3 separate regions of the Homo sapiens genome follow, and all the other regions are linked to region 3. The links are contacts of gene promoters, found by promoter capture Hi-C in human tissues and cell types (Jung and others, 2019). All regions are on one chromosome and are shown on one strand. Each heading gives the region's core, a stretch centred on a gene start or on the middle of the fragment in contact. The rest is flanking DNA. Distances are from core to core; before and after follow the strand shown. Region 1 overlaps DNAAF11 (dynein axonemal assembly factor 11). Region 2 overlaps DNAAF11 (dynein axonemal assembly factor 11). Region 3 holds the start of OC90 (otoconin 90).

Region 1 (2,934 bases), core at 200-2,699, 560 kb before region 3:
GGGTTTTTATGGTTTTAGGTCTAACATTTAAGTCTTTAATCCATCTTGAATTGATTTTTGTATAAGGTGTAAGGAAGGGATCCAGTTTCAGCTTTCTACATATGGCTAGCCAGTTTTCCCAGCACCATTTATTAAATAGGGAATCCTTTCCCCATTTCTTGTTTTTCTCAGGTTTGTCAAAGATCAGATAGTTGTAGATATGCGGCATTGTTTCTGAGGGCTCTGTTCTGTTCCATTGATCTATATCTCTGTTTTGGTACCAGTACCATGCTGTTTTGGTTACTGTAGCCTTGTAGTGTAGTTTGAAGTCAGGTAGTGTGATGCCTCCAGCTTTGTTCTTTTGGCTTAGGATTGACTTGGCGATGTGGGCTCTTTTTTGGTTCCATATGAACTTTAAAGTAGTTTTTTCCAATTCTGTGAAGAAAGTCATTGGTAGCTTGATGGGGATGGCATTGAATCTGTAAATTACCTTGGGCAGTATGGCCATTTTCACAATATTGATTCTTCCTACCCATGAGCATGGAATGTTCTTCCATTTGTTTGTATCCTCTTTTATTTCCTTGAGCAGTGGTTTGTAGTTCTCCTTGAAGAGGTCCTTCACATCCCTTGTAAGTTGGATTCCTAGGTATTTTATTCTCTTTGAAGCAAAAAGACAGGGATGCCCTCTCTCACCACTCCTATTCAACATAGTGTTGGAAGTTCTGGCCAGGGCAACTAGGCAAGAGAAGGAAATAAAGGGTATTCAATTAGGAAAATTTGCAGACAACATGATTGTATATCTAGAAAACCCCATTGTCTCAGCCTAAAATCTCCTTAAGCTGATAAGCAACTTCAGCAAAGTCTCAGGATACAAAATCAATGTACAAAAATCACAAGCATTCTTATACACCAACAACAGACAGAGAGCCAAATCATGAGTGAACTCCCATTCACAATTGCTTCAGTACCATCCTTCTTAAAGCAATTTCTTCCCTTTACTTCTGATTTTTCTTCTATCTTACTGACTGCTCATCTTCCTAAGCTTTGACAGATCCTTTTGATTTTGTTTTTTGGGTGCCCTATAACAAACTCCTCAGCTGTCTTCCCTTTTCACATTCGCTCTTCATGGCTCTCACCAAATCCCATGGCTGTAAACACTCCCTTTACATTTCTCCCAACTCGATCCAACCTCTTCTCTGAGCTCAAGACTTGTCTATTCAGTTATGTTGTTAAGAATATATAGTTCCTCTTCAGAGGGTTTCGGTTCCTGGTTCTTTGTTCTATTCTAAAAGATAATTGTACCCATTCATCTGTCAGCCCTCCCTATCTCTACTGTGCCCAAACACCCCAAGATATACCGTACCTTTCCTTCCTGTGAAATGCCCACTGTTGCCTCCTTTGATGATGTCAACAGTAGCCAATCAGAATTAGCCTAGATTGAGCGGTCCAACCCCAGCCTGCAGTGGAAGGACATAGGAATAGGGTCTGTGTTAGGGATAAAAAACTCCTGCTCTCCTTTGTTTTGCTCACTCTCCCTTGCCTCTGCCTTGCATGCAGGAAGTGCCCTTCTATAGAAGTATATTGCCTTGCTGAGAAAACTTTTGCCTGAGTGCTGGTTTCACTTTGTGGCACTGAAAATTTGTTTCTAACAATTAGCTGTTTGACATCACTGGGTGGATATAAGAGAGTCATTGCACACTTATGACGACTAAAAGAGAACCCCTGATTTCCAGCCTCACTAACACTCTCCAGCATCGTGTGCTTGTGTCCCTGTGTTCTCCATCTCAGTAACACACATTCACCCCTTGGCTAAGACCAGAAACCTTGGATTCTCCCTTAATTCTTCTCTCCCTCATTTTATCAGTGCGTCCTATGAACTCTTCCTTCGATATTATCAGAATCCAGCCACATCTCACTGACCCCACCACCACCACTAGTGGACACTAACTCTTGCTTGGACAGTTGCAATTGCTTATTAAGCAGTCTCCATGGTTTATCTGTTGGCCTCCTACATTCTGTTCTACTCAGCTAAATAAAGAAGAAAAAAGGGAAGAAAGGATACACGCTCCTTTTCTTAAGGGACATTCTTAGAAAGTGCCATACAACGACTGTCCCTCACATGACCTCACCCACCTGCAAGGGAGGCCAGAGAATGCAACCTTTATTGTACATAGCCATGCCCCTAGTTAAAACCATGGTTCCTGTCACTAGGAATAAAGGGGAAGCAGATAGCAACTAAATAGCAATCTCTGCCATAGGAAAATTCTCTGAAATTACTTTACAAGTAATAAGCAATCGAGGCAGAGCAGGAGCATATAAAAAGGCTCCTGAGATGAGGTTCTACAAATGCATGGGTCATTTGAGACACTGAAGAAGTCCCACAGGCCTGACTATTGAAAGCAATGAGACAGTGCCTGCCACAAGCAGAAATGGGGCGAACAGCCAAATCTATCGCTAACTTCACATTTTCCTAAACAGTTTAGCTTATGTTCTTTAATATTGTTGAGTTGTATGTTTTATAGAGTAATACAGTAACTGAAATGTTCAAAAGAAAATTGACCAGGCAATTCTGATAGTATGTTGTTCAGTGTGGAAGCTAGACCTAGGACTCAACCTCGGGGTACAGTTGAAAGATGGTGGAGCTTTGAAATCCTGCCTAGCCAGGCTCGTGCAGAGAAAGTGTAAAGGCATTTATTATAATTCAGCTATGCCAACCTCTTTGAACCTCTGTTTCTTCATCTATAAAACAGAGGTAATAGATAATGAGCAGTGTCTCAGCCTTTTTCAGGGCAATGGAAAGGTCAGCGATGAAAGGAGAAGAAAAAAGATAGCAAGAAAAAAGAAGGAAGACAGGACTCTAAAACTTAAGGAATAGAATGCAGGATAAAGGGGAGGCAAAAGCAACCTTTAGTTCTCCATAAATAATTCCAATGTTTTAGTTTGCTTCTGGCAAAC
Region 2 (2,966 bases), core at 444-2,943, 600 kb before region 3:
ATAGTATTCCATGGTATATGTGTACCAAATTTTCTCTATCCAATCCGCTGTTGATGGGGACTTGGGTTGAATACATTACTTTGATATTGTGAATAGTGCTGCAGTAGCACACGAGTACAGGTGTCTTTTTGATTGAATGATTTATTTTCCTTTGGGTAGATACCCAGTAGTGAGATTGCTAGGTTGATTGTTCATTCTATTTTTAATTCTTTGAGAAATCTCTATTCTGTTTTCCATAGGGGTTGAACTAATTTGCATTCCCACCAACAGAGTATAAGTGTTCCCTTTTCTCTGCATCCTTGCCAACGTCTATTATTTTATGACTTTCATAATAATAGCCATTCTGACTGGTATGAGATGGTATCTCATTGTAGTTTTAATTTGCATTTCTCTGATGACTAGTGATGTGGAGCTTTTTTTTTTAAAGTTTGCTGGGCACTTTTGTGTCTTCCCAAAGCATTTTTAAATCTCTAGAATGATCTCACGTAATTGCAGTGCTATATTATTTGGAGTAGAAATTTCTAAAGGCGAATAATGCTCCTTGGACTTAAAGAATGTTTGCTCTAAATTAGACAGTATATAAAACCGAAAATGCTTTCCTGTTCAAAAGCATGAAACACTATAATCTCCATGCACCATGAAGATATCTTTACACATTTCTTCTCGGGGGCTCTGGTTTTTGTTCTGATGTTTGCCATTACAGGTGAAGCAGCACTGTGTAACAACAATTTCCTCAGCGCTATAAAATGGTAAGCCACACGGCAGTTTGCTTGTCATAGGAGAGTTTAGAAAAGATCTGCTGGGAAATTTCCACATCTTCACAGTTCTGTCCTCCTCTGCAATTATTTATTTTCTTTTAATGTATCCTAATTGTATATAATCATTGCTGTCCAGGCAAACTTCTCTGTTGTGTCCCTTCTTTCCTTTGTGTGTGTGTGTAATTTAGTTATTCATGCTAAGGGAGGCTCCCTAAACTCCACCTCTTTAAATTAATAGGGATTTTTCTCATCTTAATTCTCATGGTTAGAAGATATGAATCAATATAATTCTTTCCTAATACTTACATGCCTTCGAAAGAGAAGATTTGACAGTTGCATGAAGTGATTGGTTTTACACACGTAATACCTTGATGAAGAGAGTTTCTTGGTTGGTCGCAGTGGCTCACACCTGTAATCCCAGTACTTTGGGAAGCCAAGGTGGGTGGATCGCTTGAGTCCAGGAGTCTGAGACCAATGTGGACACGATGGTGAAACCCTGTCTTTACAAAAAAAAAAAAAAAAATTAGCTGGGTGTGGTGGCGCATGCCTGTAGTTCCAGCTACTCAGAAGGCTGAGGTAGGAGGATCCCTTGATCCTGGGCTGCAGCAAACTGTAATCGTGCCACTGCACTCCAGCCTGGGTGACAGAGTGAGACCGTGTCTCAAAGGAAGAAAGAGTTTCTTAAATGTTCAGAGGTATAGCAAGAGAATACTACAAGGATATTTGGTACCAGTAGAAACTTTGTCAACCCTGGAAATCTTTAAGAGTGGGCAATTTAGAAAAGCCTTTCACAGTGTAGACTAGAGGCGCCTGTGATACCTTGAGCAGCCCTGAGAGTCAGAAAGTCCCACATGGCAGTATGAGGCCAGAGACCAAGTGATGCTTAAGATTCTATCAGAAGTCCCCTGAACACATTCGACTTAACCATGGATGACATCTCCTTTGGAGTTCAAATTATATCTTCAATATGGATACAAAACTAAGCCTTCAACTAGAATCTGGGGCAAGAGTATAAGTAAAGGCCTATGTATCAAGTTATAAACCAAACTGCTAAATAAAATATGTCTTCTTACCTTGACAAGTATACTTTCCTAACAACCTGAGGGCTGCATTTCCTATGCTGGAGTTCTATGACAGAGCATGGTGGATTGGGGAAATCTTGCCCTCTGGCCCACTCTTCCCTTTTCTTCCCATCTCTGACTCTGTCCTGGCCCCTAACACCCATGTATGAGCATGGACACTCCAGCCTATACATCCATGCCATCCACCTCCCTGACAAACAGCTGACCCTTGGACATCCCTTAGGCGTTGGGATATGTACCTGATGTCATGGTCTGTCTTCAGGAACGAACCTGGAGAAGCTGCCATTGCAAGGTTTAGAGTAAGGCTTGGAGCCCCTTGAACAGAGAATCCCATTGTTCCTTCCATGGGCCATGGTCTAGAGAGGAAGACTTGGGCTCTGGATGGGCACGTCCTCCTGGCCCCATGGACTCCAGTTCTAATAGTAGCAAGGCCTCCAACAATCCACCCCCTTGCTCTATGGATTTGAGTAGTTTAAGTTACAGATATACCGTTAGTCATTGAGGGTCTTATTACTAGTGGTCAGTAATTTCCACATTTTGTTAAATGTACAGATAACAAGGTTGTGCAATCTCAACCCCTTGACCCATGTTGCATCCTTGCTAAGAGAATTCTTATAGGTAAATTACAGATCTAGATCATACATTTACTTTACACAGGAGCATTGCTCTATCCTCTGGCTGTACCCATTTATTCATTATCAGTTGATTTAAGCTGTTAGAACCAACTTTGGTTAGGAGGATAGAGAGTAGTTTTAATGCTCTTCTCTTACAGGTTTGGTTTTTCTCTTTTCCTTGATTATAGCACCCTATTTAAGCTGGTTCACAAACCATTATTGGAATTCCAGGGACAGCTGAATGGTGCTGGCAGCAGGGTTCCCAGCGAGCCAGGCTGGTGGTGGTGTACTGTTAGCCTCCTTCCTGGGCGCTTTGGGCTGTCCCTTACCAGGATCTGGTTTGTGACCATCTCTGCCTGTTAGTTGAGCCAAAGCTTAGAGCAGCAAGGACTTTCCCCATGTATGGTATTTTAATCTCTCAACCTCTACATTGCTCTGGTCCTTCTTATAAAGAACTGTCATTGCAAGCACCCGTATCTCCTACCACTAGAAGTAGCAGAGAGTTTAGCTAA
Region 3 (2,987 bases), core at 442-2,941:
AACAGAATGGTAAAAGGCCAAGGTTCCAGGGATATTGAAGGCCAGTGGTTTTCAATCAGGGGTGATTTGGCCCCCAGGGGACACTTGGCAATGTTTGGAGACATTTTTGGTTGTCACAACAAGGTAGGGAGTGCTACTGGCATCAGCTGAGTAGAGACCTGCGATATTGCAATGCTCGGGACAACTCCTACAAAAAAAGAATAATTTGGCCCAAATGTCAACAGTGCTAAGATTAAGATACTCTGTTGTAAGCTATGGGAAAAAATGATCCTTCTCAAAACCCCATGAAATGTCTCGAACAAGATACCTATGTAGATTGTTATGCCTTTGTATTGCTCAGGCATAATAACAATCTCAGTTATGCTCTTGAGCATAATAACAATCTCAGCTATGCTCTTGAGATGCTGAAAAGATGGATTTTGCTGCACTGAGCCATAGATGCCCACGGGCTTAGTCATTTTAGAGATGGTGGGTCTTTGGTGCTAATGAGAAAATATTACAGACAATGCATCTTCATTCCTCAAATCACATGAGATGCTGAACAATAGTTAATGATCTACAAACACAAGCCTCAATGAATGAGAGTAATTACTTATTTGAAGAAGCCCTTCAATGGGTTCTTCCATAGAGGCTCAATTGTGCCCTGATTTAATCGTTTGAGGAGTCCTGCTTCTTCAGGAGGTGGCCATAGAGTGAGCAACTCAGAGGGTTCACAGCCAGGCTAACCTGCATTCCAGAATGCTTCCATTACACGTGAGCTTCTACAATGCCTCAACCTCAACGACACCATTTTTTCTCATCTGTAAAGTGGAGCTAATTAATCCTTGCTCCTAGGATTATGAAAGCAGTAATGGAAGGGCTGCTGCAGGGATGATGAGGGCAAAATCCTATAAAACACTTGTGGTACATTACACGTACTCAATAAATGCCAGTTCTCCTTTCAAAATCAGGAAAGAAAACCCTTCACAAGGCGATATGAGGAAGTGACAAAAAGAACTAGGACTTAATGAGCCCCCATACCACACACTATATATGGCTTTCTTCAGCCTCGAAATCTTAGTAGGATTAAGCCCATTTAACAGATGTGGAAGCTAAAGCTGAGCAGTGACAAACTCAAGGTCACACTGCTACTCAGTAGCAGGGCTGGCAGAGGAACCTTGGGTGTCTGATTATAAAGCCCCACCTCACCCTACCCCACAGCTTGGGCAGAAAAGCCCTAAAGGAAAGAGGCATCAAATTCCGAGATCTGAGGCCAAGAACATATAAGAAGAATCACGCTAGAAATCCTCTTGCTAAAGAATGAACTAGACCAGACAAAGCCAGCCCTTTATCTTGCAGGAGAGCCCACATGACTTTCATCAGTCTTTCATCCCCCGAGAGTTCCCATGATGACCCTGAGACATAATCCATGGGCCTCCTAGCCTTTGAGGTGAGGTGGGGTAGAACAGGGAACCCATTGTTCTCTAATTAGAGCCTGAGGTCTCCTCTGAGGCTCAAGATGGGGCTTCTTAATATGGAGCCTTCACCTGTTCCAAGCTATAGTATTATGATGCCTCCTCCCTTCAGAGGCAGCCCACCTGCCAACATTCATGAAAGGCTTCCTTCTTGATGTGAGGAGTGGGGAGAGGCATCACATGGCTAAGGGTCTTTCCTTGGGGTATAAAGGACTCAGTCTGCACCTGTTCAAACCCTAGCATCATTCATCCAGCTGCACTCCAGTGGAGCCTTCACGGTAGGCATCTGTTATTCCTGATGGTTGGGGAGACAGAGAGCAGGGGAGGGAGGGAGGGAGGAAGACAGCAAGTAAAGGAGGGAAATGAATGGGAGAAGAGAAGAAGGGAGGGAGAAAGAGAAGGAGGGGGAGAGGGAGGGATGGAGGAAAAGAGTGAGGGAGGGAGGGAAATGGTTGGGAGATGGAAAGAGGCAGAAAGGGTAGGAGGAAGGAGGGGAGGGAAGAAAAGTAGGAGAAATTGATGAAGGAAGAAAAGGAGGGAGAAAGAGAGGGTAGAAGGGAGGGAGGGAGAGAGGGAAAGAGGGAGGAAGGGAGAGAAGAATGGAGGGGAAATGAGGAGATAAATGAATGGAGGATAAGGTGGTAGGGGATGCTCTCAGGGCTGTCTGAGACCTGGATGTTGCTCCAGGATATAGCTGAAAACCCAAATTGCTCTGAGTCGATCTGTGAAAAGATGCAATGCCAGACAGAGAGCACCTGGCAAATTTACCCGGGGGAAAAATCCACCACTTCACATTAGTGAGGATCCTACATAGCCCTGGGCAATGACCCCGCCCACGGCACCTGGTGTGGAAACACAATCAGCATTAATTATGGGCAGTCCTCACTGAGCACTGAGCAAGTGCCGGAGATGGTGTTCTACCTTTATAAGACTCATCAGATTTAACCCTCATGATTCCCTGATGAAAAAACACCATTATATGCATTTCGCTGCCCAGGAAAATGAGTTCCAGGCATCTTCAGTGCCTGGCTCAGGGCACTCGACAAGCAAAAGGCAGAGCCTGAACTCCCTGACCCCAGCCCAGGTCTGTCCGACCAGCAAGGCCTTGGGCTCAGACACTGGCTATGCAGCCATGAGACCGGCCATTGGGAGACAGCTAGGGGAGCCGGGACTCCAAACCTGGCATGCAGACCAAGGCGAGGCTTCGGGAGCCTTCTCAGGCCCACAAGGACAGCACTGACCCATGAGGCCACGACAGCCCCAGAGACTTCCTTGGGCAAATTAGGAGAAGGAGGTCTTTCCTCCAGGTAGACACAGCCCCACAGCCAAGGGCGCCTGACTTGGCCAACAGGAGGATACTGGATTTCAGAAGCAGCCCCACACCATCCCACCCACGTACCCTAATGTGCACGTACCCCAGATTCGGGTCATCCTCACTGTTGCCCAGGGCTGACCACGTGCTTCTAACTGGCACCTTCTAGCTGGCACTGACTTTCCTTCTTTGTGCGCAGCAAGGAAGCTGTCACCTGCTGT

What was found. Contacts are between HindIII fragments. The study calls those that stand out against the background at their distance.
Region 1: a contact is called between a fragment that was not itself captured here and the fragment with the promoter of OC90 in region 3, in 2 of the 25 tissues and cell types used here (dorsolateral prefrontal cortex and thymus).
Region 2: a contact is called between a fragment that was not itself captured here and the fragment with the promoter of OC90 in region 3, in 1 of the 25 tissues and cell types used here (dorsolateral prefrontal cortex).

The regions. Positions count from the first base shown.
Region 1 is chr8:132,615,411-132,618,344 of GRCh38, reverse strand. All of the region lies in intron 7 of DNAAF11 (dynein axonemal assembly factor 11), which reads left to right. Among named protein-coding and RNA genes, the nearest start is that of HPYR1, 55 kb to the right of the region's middle. The HindIII fragment of the contact is 4,801 bases long and covers 1-2,934 here.
Region 2 is chr8:132,662,944-132,665,909 of GRCh38, reverse strand. All of the region lies in intron 1 of DNAAF11 (dynein axonemal assembly factor 11), which reads left to right. Among named protein-coding and RNA genes, the nearest start is that of DNAAF11, 11 kb to the left of the region's middle. The HindIII fragment of the contact is 6,882 bases long and covers 1-2,966 here.
Region 3 is chr8:132,058,086-132,061,072 of GRCh38, reverse strand. It overlaps OC90 (otoconin 90), which reads left to right and starts at 1,691. Exons shown (of 14, transcript NM_001080399.3): 1 at 1,691-1,732. RefSeq lists enhancers at 2,044-2,620, 2,621-2,987. The HindIII fragment of the contact is 9,699 bases long and covers 1-2,987 here.